Linked DNA regions of Homo sapiens: region 2 is linked to region 1. The links are contacts of gene promoters, found by promoter capture Hi-C in blood cells and fetal thymus (Javierre and others, 2016). All regions are on one chromosome and are shown on one strand. The core of a region is centred on a gene start or on the middle of the fragment in contact, and the rest is flanking DNA. Distances in the headings are between cores, read along the strand shown. Region 1 holds the start of TMEM106B (transmembrane protein 106B). Region 2 has its middle 4.6 kb from the start of THSD7A.

Region 1 (6,358 bases), core at 263-2,762:
TCCTATTACAATACCTCATATCCTATACTTTGCATCCTGATTTTAATTTTATATCACTCCGCGTATAACAGCCTTATAAGATGGTTTTTACTGGCTTTATAAAAACTCAATAGATGGCTATTCCATAATTTTAAAAACTCAGTAATTCCAAGGGGAACATCATATCTCCACAGGTGGACTGTCAATAATTTTGAGAAAAATTTTCCCCCATGATTCTGATTTGTTTTAACCAACCTATTAATTTTGAAATTTCAAACAGTGTTAATGGAAGACACCCTGACCCTTCCCTTTGGAAAATATGGGCTAAATAAAAGCGGTTGAAAAATAATGATTTTATCAATGTCCCTTGTTGGACATTCAGTTTATTTAAATGGATACACCTCATACCCAAATCTTTTTAGAGTTCTCATTAGGTTTAGGATACTTCTGAAAGGGTGGAATTGCTGGACCAAACGATGTGAACATTTTAATAGTCTTGATACATACTGACTGTCTGCCAGAAAACTTAGGAGTTTTAAATCTCCGACAACATTGTATGAGAAAGCTCATTATCTCACATATGGATCTACAGTAATCCTCTTAAATTGTATATCGTTCTGACTTGTATTTCCTACTTTTACATAGCTTCATTTCCCAATTCCTGTTAGAATTCCCTGATTCTAACAGGATCACACTGATCCTGTTAGAAGAGAGAAATATATGACTCTCACTTCCTTGCTCCTGTGACTGTAAGAATGCCTACCATTCATTAAACGTTAAACTCTCCGCAGGAATGAGACTAGAGTGCCCTTAATATTATTACCGGCATCTCATTGATCCCTCAAAACGACTCCTTGTCGTTGTTCTTATCTTCTAAGTGAAATGACCTAGACGTTGGGGGAGGGCAGCCCCAACCCACAGCGAAGAGCTTAAGTACTGGGATCCGAGACGGGATTTCACACACCTGTAACTAGCACCAGAGTTAAGGGGTGGGGAGGGGCAGCGTGGGCAAAGCGAAACGAAACCGAGCAAAAACAAAAACTACGGCCTTGCCGCTTGCTGTCTCCTTCTAGTTGGCCAGTTTCTAAATTAAAATAGAGGTAGCTTTGCTGCTGTCAGCGGCGTGTGTACGGACCAGTTTATTCCATTCCTAAGGACCAGACTGTCAGCGACAACTCGCATTGCGTGAGCGAGGAGGCTGCTCAGCTGAAAGCTGAGGCAGATGGTGCACATTTATACCCTTTGCAAAAGGAAATGGTCTGATATGGGAAATAGGAGGAGCGACTGTTCCTAGGTAATTCGTGGCTACAGTGGACACTTTGAAGTCTGGGGGACGCGAAGGTAATGAAACCTGAAGAGCGCACAATCTCACACGATCGACGCCTCTGGGCTCAAACAGGAGGAAGAAGGACGCATGCGTCACGCGCACGCCAGGGGTGTCCCTCCGGGAGCGCTCTGCGCAGGCGCGGACGCAGGTTACAGCAGCGCTTGGCCTCTGCTGATGCCGTCGTTATCCTACCCCTCCCCCGTCCCAGCTCTACGGCGGCCGCGCGCTCCAGGCCGGTCGCTCCACCCCCCGGCTCCCGGGACTGTGGACTCCACGACCCTGTCCTCGGCCCTGTCCGCGCCGAAGCAGCCCGGGACTGCGCAGCGCCCCGCGTGCCGGTGAGCGACCCCGGACGTGCAGTCCCCAGGTCCCCTTCCGGAGCGAGGCTGAGCGGCTGCGCCGCGGCTTGAGCCGGGCCTGACAAGGAGGGGAGGCCGCTGGGGTGCTGGGCCAGCCGCAGGTACGGCGGCGGTCAGGGCTGGTGATCGAGTTGCTGTGTCGCCTCTAATGAGGCCCAGCCAGGGAACACTCGGCTTCGGCCCAAGCCCTACCTCTGGGTTGCCTCTAGGCCCTCACACCTTGAGCGCCAGGTGGCCCTCTTCCTTTTGCTGTTGATGAATGTTCTTGCCGTGGTGCCGGGATCTTATTTTGCAGCTTTACAGAGTAGGCTTTGTGCTAGGTGTTGTTTATGGAGCTTTTCAAAGGCGCTTGTTTCCTTAGTTCTCAAGCCCTTTTAGAACTAAAACCAGTGTCTACACAGAAGATCAGGAGCCATTTAAATTGGAGTGCTGTGATATATTTTTTCTCTCCAAACTGAGTCTGATATCCATGTTGACTTTCAGTAAACTAAGGAACCGCTATAATAAATAACACTGAGCCCACAGAGGTTGCAGAAGAGGGTCTAGCACCCCTTTTTTAAACCATTGAGTCTCCCAAGAATAAAAGTGGTTACACTTGTCAGTTCTCTAAGGAAAATCTAGTAGAGAAGGCAAGGGATTCCCAGTTTCTCACAGAGTCTGGCACTTGTCCAAACACCTACCCTAAAGCAGAATCGATCATGGCAGCTATTAGATTAGGACAGAAAACAGGCTCAAACGGAGAGCCACTTGAGTCTGCCTTTCTGTGTCTTTTTTCTCAACGCGCTCCAGTTAAGATGCAGCTTACAGCCTGGCTGTGTTGACTGAGATCCCAGAAAGAGTGCCCTTAAGGCCTTGCTGATAAGGCCCAATGATCCCAATTCATCTAGTGTTCCGCATAGACCCCAAGGTTACAGTGTGTGGGGACAGTGATGTTAAGTCTTCCCTATCCTACCTGTGGCTGACAGGTGTTGATTAAGACAATGATTTTTTAGAAGTCATAAATCATTTGTATTTTTGATGTGGGCAGTGATTTTTATAAATACATAGTTTTTTTTTTTTGAAAGAGTGAAAATCTCATTTTACATTTGTTTGCATACCATTTGTATAGTTTTTTAAATTCTGTTTATTTGAGTGACAGCAACAAGTGGATGGCATGCGAATTTTATTTATTTTTTTATCTTTGTATTTATTTTGTGTATATTCATGGAGTACAAGTGCCATTTGCTACATTGATACACAACATCCTGGTGAAGTCAGAGCCCTTAGTGCATCCAGCACTGGAGCAACACACATTGTACCCACCAAGCAGGCTCCTATCAGGCATGCCAGTTCTAGAAAGTAAAATTTTCTTCATACTCTAGGATGAACTGACTTACTTGGAATGTCTGTTTTGTTTAATCAAATAAGTGAGAATTTTTGAAAGAAATACTATCTGTCTGAATGTATGTAATCTATTTTTAGGAACCGCTAAAAGACATATCAAATTTAGAAGGAGTATAATTATGTTATTTTTCAGTTTTACTTTTTCACTTTATTTTTTCTCAGGATATAAGCAGGAAAATACCAGCAGGGTGTATTATATGACTGTTAAGTTCTTTTCAGCTTTAAAAGGGTATGACCTTAAGTATAAAGTTACTTCATTATCTACCTGCAGAAGTTATTTTTGTGTAGGCACTAGTACTAATTATTTATTTCTACTTAGATTTTTACATTTGTATTGTTATTTTGATACTCTTATCCTAAAATTTTTGAAGTTAGTGTTCTAAATTTTGCTGCTTTGTATTGGTAACTTATATTTAATATTTTGGAACATTGGCTTCATAATTTTAACTGTCAACTGTTGAATGAAAAAAAAACTGTGATTTTGGAATTTTGGGGCTTTTTATTGTTGTTGCGAGTGTTTAAATGTTTAAAGCAAGAAATTTAAGGATGGAAAAGAGTGGTGATTGTATTTATCACAAAGGTGCGTGAATTTTCAGAGGCTGAAACGTACTACTTTGAAGTTACTTGGTGATATACATCAAATACCTAGTTATCGTCTACCCAAAGCAATTTTTGCCTTTAGTGCTAACTAGTTAAAAGGTAGAATGTATTTTTATTTTATTTTAAGAAAAATGAAACCTGCATGTTTCTTTTCAGAGAACCTGCAGGTGTAGACTTTTGTCAAATGTTAATGTTTGAAAGCCCATTCTCATCATAAGCATGATAGGACATCATTTCACATTATTTGTTTAAAAAAACACTTCTGGACTCTAGTAAATGGCTCCTTTGTTTCAGACATTATTTTGATTGGATATAATCCTAATCCAAAAGGTATAATCCAAAAGGTAGTTTGAACATTCTCTTAATGTTTGTTCTGTAAACCAAAAATAAAATTCTGAGCCCCCCAACTAAGTGGAACCCGCTTCTCTGTCAAGGGCATTCCAAAGTAAACCTAAAAAGGTAGTTCAGGCCATGATGAAAAGGTGGGTGGAGGGGATTGAACATGCCCCGTTGTACCTTCCTCTCTTTGGAATTCAGGCACAACTGACCAGCATCAATTAAAACAGAGATTTGAAGACTAACAAGAGTCTCTTTGTAGCAATAAGATATCAAATCCCAACCTGACTCTAATATAGAATCACTCGACAGATAGCAGGCCCTGAGAGAAATTGAAATATCTTACCCCAAAATATATTTCTTTGAAATGGCCTTGCAAAGCTGTCTCTCGTGGGGAAGATCCACATTCTGTACAGAATCCCCTTTCCTTTCCAGATCTTTTCCTAATTCAGCAGCGATTTAACCAAGAGCCTGGAATATTTTAAGGAGTAATAAGAGACATTTACAAACTATTCTCTCTGAAGCCTGCTACCTGGAGGCATCATCTAGATAATCAGAACCTTGGCTTCCACATCCTCCTCCCTTGTCTTAACTACAAACATTTCTTTCTGCTGACTTCAACTCCTCAGGTAGAGTTTAACCGTTTCAACCAATTGCCATTAGGAAATCTTTAAATCCACCTATGCACCTATGACCTGGACACCCCCCAGCCTTCCACCCCTGCTTCAAAATGTCCTGCTTTTCTGGGCTGAATTAATGTATACCTTACATCTATTGATTTATGCCTCTGCCTGTAATTTCTGTCTCCAAAATGTATAATCAAGCTGTAACCCAACTACCTTGAGGACATTTTCTCAGGACCTGTTGAGACTGTGCCTCAGGCCTTGTTCACTCATTTTTGGCTCCGAATAAATCCCTTCAAATATTTTACAGAGTTTGACTGTTCCTTGACTGTTCTAAATTAATTAGTGTAAATATCTCAGAGTGTTCTTGAATGTACTTTTTTCCCTGAAGTTTACTGTAAGATTTTTATTTTTCTTTAGACATGGGAAAGTCTCTTTCTCATTTGCCTTTGCATTCAAGCAAAGAAGATGCTTATGATGGAGTCACATCTGAAAACATGAGGAATGGACTGGTTAATAGTGAAGTCCATAATGAAGATGGAAGAAATGGAGATGTCTCTCAGTTTCCATATGTGGAATTTACAGGAAGAGATAGTGTCACCTGCCCTACTTGTCAGGGAACAGGAAGAATTCCTAGGGGTATGTGTTATTGTATTGTTTTCCCTTTAAATGATTTTAGGTATTTGCTCAAGTATTATAAAAACTGTGGGTCTCAGGAACCACCTGTTTTAGAGGACTCTTAGAATTAAAGTTGAAACATCATATCAGTTACCTTCAGTCAAAAAGATGCAAAAGAAACAAATAAAGTATTAATTAAGGTTCCTAAAGCAGTAAAGAAAACCACCTCACTACCTCCAGTATTTTTTCATTCCCACCTGCTATTATAGCAGATATTCACTGTCTTGTAAATGAAAACTTTTAGTCCTATTTGGCATCTGTAGAGATGACATCATAGTTACTTGCTACTTTGCTATATCAGATGTTAGAAGCAATTTAAGTAATTTGTTGACCTATTTTTTTTTTTTTTTTAAGAGATGAGATCTCGCAATTGTTGGCCAGGCTGGTCTTGAACTCCTGTCCTCAAGCAATCCTCCCACCTCGGCTTCCCAGAGTGCTAGGATTATAGCAGTAAGCCACCATGCCCAGCCAGAGTTAATGTGTAAGGAAGCTTATTCTTTCATGTTATTTTTAAAATTTTATTTTTTTAATAATAAGGATGGAGTTTCCCCATGTTTCCCAGGATGATGTCGAATTCTTGGGCTCAAGCGATCATCCAGCCTTGGCCTCCCAAAGTGTTAGAATTACAGCTGTGAGCCACCACGCCTGGCCAACCTAATATTTTTAATTCATTATCTAAAGAAGAAGAATAAGCTGGCTGTGCCCTAATGAGTTAAAGAAACTCTGTGAAGAGGGATGGTACGTGAAAATGAGCCAAATTGAAAAAAAAAAATTGTTTGTGATATATCATAGGGGACGTCAGAAGGAAATAATCCCCTGTGTGCTGCTTGTAAGCTACTTTAGGAACAGTGGCAATAAGTAGAAATAATAAAGATACTTTATGCTGTTCTCATTATCTTCTTGGTGAAAGTTGATGTGTGACCCTGGAGATACCCAGAGGGAAGAAGGTCAAAGTATAAAGTATACTTTGTGTACCTTTTTAAGATGCTTAAAATGTATCTTAAAATGCTGTGGGTTTGAATTGAAGTTTACATTTGCGTTGGCCTTTGAGTATGATGGTTTTATTTTCACAA
Region 2 (5,840 bases), core at 1,037-3,536, 380 kb before region 1:
TCTTAACTAATGTATGGTTCCCTGAAGGATCACTTCTTTTGACAGTTACACCACAGAAGGAAATGGGACCTGCTATTGCTTCCTGGGTTCTGTCGTTTCAGGAAAATTTCCATGTCCACTCCACAAGGAATCATTTTCCCATCCTTTCTGCTTGTATTTCTCAGCTACTGTTAGTGCCCTAAACCTTGAAATCCTCTAACTCTGGCACAGGAAGTATTTCAAACTGGACATACTCTGCTAACAGCAGCCATTCTACGCATTCGTGGGAAGCGCCAATCAATTCACCAAGTGGGAATTCATTATATAACAGAGGACAGAGAGTCTGAGGAATTAAGTTAATGTGCAAGGTCATTTACCTAGCCCTTCAAAAAGCCATCCGACACTATACTTAATAGCTTATTGTCAAAAGAAATTTTAAGATTCTGACCTTTATATTTACCCATGGTGGTATAATAATAACTCAACTTGTCAAGAGTGTAAACATCATAGCTACAAATTCAAGCATTATACGGGGTCAATTTCTAGGTTCCAATTTGCTGCCATTTACAATACACAATTATGGTGATATGTTCTGCAGTACTGTTTCAAAATAGCCAACATTTGGTTTCCTTCTTTCAATTTCAACGTACACAAGGCCTAGGAGTCACACACACACATGCACATACACAAACACACACAATCATCAGCAAAGATATCTCTGAACAAGGTTAGAGAATCCAAGTCATATAAACATTTGTCTCCACACCTGCCACACATTTGTTCATAACAATGTCATTATTGCACTTGAGGACAAAAATGTATGGGTCTCTGAGGAGACAAAAGTGATGTATATATCCTGATATGTGTTCCTTTGTGAAAGGTATAGTGTCTAGGTAGATAAATCCTATCAATAAAACTGATAGATGGCAAGAGATAGCAAGACATAGCAATATTTGTTTCCTAGAATATGACATAAATAATAATACACAAATGTTTAATGACATGATGTCAAAATTTAGTCATGAGAAGTCTCAAGGATGCAGATTAAATTGACCATCTGTACAGCCTGCCATGAAGTAAATCGTTCGTCATTTTTCATGGAGAACTGTTCAAATATTAATGAGCCAGTGCGATAAAAGTTCTCCAAACCAATGAATGACAAATGCAAAGCATATTTTTTTAATATTTAGAAATGAAAAAATTCTAAACTTATCACCTCTCATGTGATAGGTGTCTTTATTCTGCCTCTATTAATTTTGCTATCATTTCTAAACTCCAGAGGTAAGGATGTGAACATACCTATACACATCTGTTTTCTCTTTTATTAGAACATAAACATATAAATATATATTACAACTCATGAGACTCATGACAATGACTTTTAGTCATTAGTATCAATATTTTAAAACAATTATGAAATATTCAGTTCCTTGATGGAAAGGGAAACAACTTTTAACATCAACAGTTTTATAATTATAAAAAAGTGAAGAAATATAGTTATTTATTGATAGTATTACATATGGAAATATCTAAAGATGTCCATTTTGAAATAAAAACTTAAAAATAATTCTCCACATAAATGCATTTTGCATCCTAAAAAATAAAAAATACCCAAAGGAATTCTATTTGTGCAACCTCTAGGTGTCACACTTGACCAAGATTTGGATGAGACAAAATTTATTTTGGGCTTCTTTCTATCCTCCCCTTCCCTTGACACCCACCCACCAAGTTTATAGGTACACCTCATTTTACTGTGCTTTACACATATTTTTGTTTGTTTGTTTGTTTAACAAATTTAAGGCTTGTGACAACTTGGCATTGAGCAAGTCTATCAACATAATTTTTCCCACATGAAGTGCTCACTTCATGTCTCTATCACATTTTGGTAATTTTCATAATTTTTCAAATGTTGTCACTATTATTCTATCTGTTATGGTGATCTGTGATCTGTGATCTTTGATGTTACTGTTGTAATTATTTTGGGGCACCACATACTGTGCCCATATAAAATAGCAAACTAAATTAATGAATGTTGTTGTGTATTCTGACTTCTCCACCAACAGGCTGTTTCCCTATCTCTCTCTCGTTGGGCCTCCCTTTTCCCTGAGACATATGAATATTGAAATTAGGCTAATTAATAACCCTACAATGGCTTTTAAGCGTTCAAGTGAAAAGAAGAATTACAAGTCTCTCATTTTCAATCAAAAGCCTAAAATTATTAAGCTTATTAGGGAAGGCATATCAAAAGCCAAGATAGGCCAAAAGCTAGGCCTCTTGCACCAGTTAGCCAAGTTGTGAATGCAAAGGAAAGTTCTTGAAGAAAATTAAAAGTACTACTTTAGCAAATACACATATGAAAGGAAGCAAAACAGCCTTATTGCTGATATGGAGAAAGCTTTAGTGATCTAGATAGAAGATCAAATCAGCCACAACATTCCTTTAAACCAAAGCCTAATCCAGAGAAAGGCCCCAATTCTATTTAAACCTGTAAAGACCAAATGACATGAGGAAGCTGCAGAAAAGTGTGAAGCTGGCAGAGACTGTTTCATAAGGTTTAAGGAAAGAAGCCATGTTCACAACAAAATTGCAAGGTGAAGCAGCTGTAGCAAGCTACTCAGAAGATGTAGCTAAGATCACTGATGAAAGTAGCCACATTAAACAATTTTCAACATAAACAGATGAAAGTACCTACATTAAACAATCAATTTTCAACATAAATGAAAAAAGCCTTCTATTAGAGGAATATGCCATCTAAAATTTTAATAGCTAGAGAGGAGAAGTCAATGCTTGGCTTTAAAATTTCAAAGGACAGGTTGACTCTCTTGTTAGGGTCTAATTCAGCTGGTGATTTTAAGTTGAAGCCAATGCTTACTTACCATTCTGAAAATCCTAGGGCCCTCCAGAATGTACTAAATCTACTCTGCCTGTGCTCTATAAAGGTAACAATAAAGGTGAATAACTGCCCATCTCTTTAGAGCATGGTTTACTGAATATTTTAAGCCCATTGTTGAGATCTACTGATCAGAAAATAAGATCTCTAATGGAGATATACAGGATATTAATATTTTCATACCTGATAATACAACATCAACTCTGCAGCCCGTGGTTCAAGGAGTAATTTTGACTTTCAAGTCATTATTTAAGGAATATATTTTGTAAGGTTTAAGCTTCCTTACATTATAATTCGTCTAATGGATCTGGGCAAACTCACTTGAAAACTTTCTAGAAAGGGTTCACCATTCTAGATACCTTTAAGAGCATTGATGTTTTATGGGAAGAAGTCAAAATACAAATATTAACAGGTTTGAAAGAAGTTGATTTCAACCCTCATGAATGACTTCTAGGGGTTCAAGACTTCTCTGGAGGAAGTCAATACAGATGCAGTTAAAAAAGCAAGAACACTAGAATTGAAAGTGGAGTCTAAAGATGTGATTCAATTGTTTCAGTCTCCCGATAAAATATGAACACATGAGGAGTTGCTTCTTAGGAATGAGCAAATAAAGTAGTTTCTTGAAATGGAATTTACTTCAGGTGAAGATACTATGAAGAGCGTTGAAATGACAACAAAGGATTTAGAATGTTACATAAATTTAGTTAATAAAGCAATGGCAGGATTTGAGATGATTGACTCCAATTTTGAAAGCAGTTCTACTGTGGTTAAAATGCTATCAAACAGCATCACATATTACACAGAAAGCTTTCATGAAAGGAAGAGACCATCAATGCAGCAAACTTCATTGCTGTCTTATTTAAGAAATTGCCATAACCACCTTAACCTTCAGCAACTACCACCCTGATTAGTTAGCAGCCATTGACATCAAGGCAACACCTGCTACCAGCAAGAAGACTACAATTTGCTGAAGGCTCAGATGATCATAGGCATTTTTTAGCAATAAAGTATTTTAAAATTATGTACATTTTTAGACATAATGCTATTGCATACTGAATAGACTATAGTATAGTTTAACAATAACTTTTATATGCCTTCGGAAACCAAAATATTAGCATAACTTGCTTTATTGTATTTGCTTTATTTCAATAGTCTGAAACCGATTTCTCTATAACTCTGAGGTATGCCTTTATTAAAAGACAGAAATTTTCATCTTTTATCTTTACAAGTAGCTATATATTTTACTTTTTTGTTTTTTCAAATTCCGGCTTTAGTATTTCTTCTCTCTTTTCTTTCCCATTTCTTTCCTTTTTTTTTTTTTTCTTAATAGACACTGTTTTGTTGTTGGTTTGTTGGTTGTTTGGTTGTTTTGGTGGTTTGTAAATTTACGTATGAGGGACGAGCAGATTTTAAATTTCAGATTGTTTTACATAAAATTAATCTCATTGTTTCTCCATTTTATTCATTAAAAAACCTGTTTGAAAATAAAATCTGCTGCAAATGATTGGACCCCTTGATTTTAACATCAGGTGAAAAAATACAGTATTCTGTTTCAGAACCTTTCAGAGTTTGGGGAATGGATTGCTCACTGCAGGACTTACAATGAGGAAGAACCTCATCCCAGATGGAACGTAAGGAATCAAAAGACCCTGGCACTAGGTAGCAGAAATATTGTTAAACATTTTTTACTAGTGGTATTCTTGCCAAACTCTTTCAAAAAATTGAAGATGAAAACATTCTTCCTAACTCATTCTATGAGTATAGCATTATCTTAATACCCAAACTAGACAATGACACAACAATGAAAGAAAACTACAGGCCAATATTGCTAATAAACAGAGATTCAAATATTCTTGACAAAATAATAGCAAGCTAATTCCAACCACATATCAAAAATAATATACCACAATCAAGTGGGTTTTATCTCAGAGATGAAAGGATGGCTCAATATGTATAAATCAATAAAGCGATATATCACCTCAACAAGATGAAGGTCAAAAATATATTATCACCTAAAAAGATATAGAAAACAGCATTTGATAAAATCAACATCTTGTCATGATAAAAACTGTCAACAAATTAGGTATAGAAGGAACATATCTCAATGAAATAAACACATATATGTTATATATATGACAAACCCATAGCTAACATTATACTCAACTATAAACTTCCCTCTTAGGACTACTTTTGCCAAATCCTATGAGATTTAGTATGTTCCATTTCCATTTTCATTTGTCTCAAGTTTCTTTAATTTCCCTTCTAATGTCTTCATTGACTCAATTGTTCAGGAATGTGTTGTTTAATTTCCATGTATTTAAAAATTTTAAACGTTCTTTATATTATTGTTTTCTCTTTATTCCATTGTAGTCAGAAAAGACACTTGATATTATTTAAATCTTCTTAAGTTTGTTAAGACTCATTTTCTGGCATAACATGATCTGTCTTGGGAGAGTACTCCATGTGCACTTGAGAAGACTATGTATTCTACAGCTACTGGGTGGAATGTTTTGTTTATGTCTGTTAGGTCCATTCAGGCTAGAGTATAGTTTAAGTCCAGTGTTTTCTTATTGATTTTCTGTCTGGATAATGTGTCCATTGCTGAAAGTGGGGTGCTGAAGGCCCCTACTTTAATTTTATTGTAGTCTCTCTCGGCTATATTAATATTTGATTTACATATTTAGGTGCTCCAATGTTGAGTGCATATATATTTACAATTATTATATCCTCTTGCTGAACTGAGGTTTTTATCATTATATAATAACCTTCATTTTCTCTTTGTTTCTTTTTACAGTTTTGACTTAACATCTATTTTATCTGATACAGGTATAGTTACTCCTGCTCTTTTTTTGTTTTTATTTGCAAGAAATATCTTTTCCATCTCTTTACTCAACATATGTGTATCCTTAAGACGCATATAGTTGGGATTTGTTATATTACGCACTCAAACATTCTATGCCCTTTGATTGGA

The links. Contacts are between HindIII fragments. The CHiCAGO score rates a contact against its expected background, and 5 or more counts as called.
Region 2: a contact is called between a fragment that was not itself captured here and the fragment with the promoter of TMEM106B in region 1, in 1 of 17 cell types (endothelial precursors). The highest score is 5.6, in endothelial precursors.

Annotation. Positions count from the first base shown.
Region 1 is chr7:12,209,782-12,216,139 of GRCh38, forward strand. TMEM106B (transmembrane protein 106B) reads left to right here and starts at 1,513. Exons shown (of 8, transcript NM_001134232.2): 1 at 1,513-1,644; 2 at 5,028-5,246. The coding sequence starts at 5,030. RefSeq lists enhancers at 912-1,061, 1,195-1,713, 1,272-1,321, 1,714-2,230 and a silencer at 1,502-1,811. The HindIII fragment of the contact is 6,470 bases long and covers 1-5,773 here.
Region 2 is chr7:11,833,833-11,839,672 of GRCh38, forward strand. No RefSeq gene overlaps it. Among named protein-coding and RNA genes, the nearest start is that of THSD7A, 4.6 kb to the left of the region's middle. The HindIII fragment of the contact is 172 bases long and covers 2,201-2,372 here.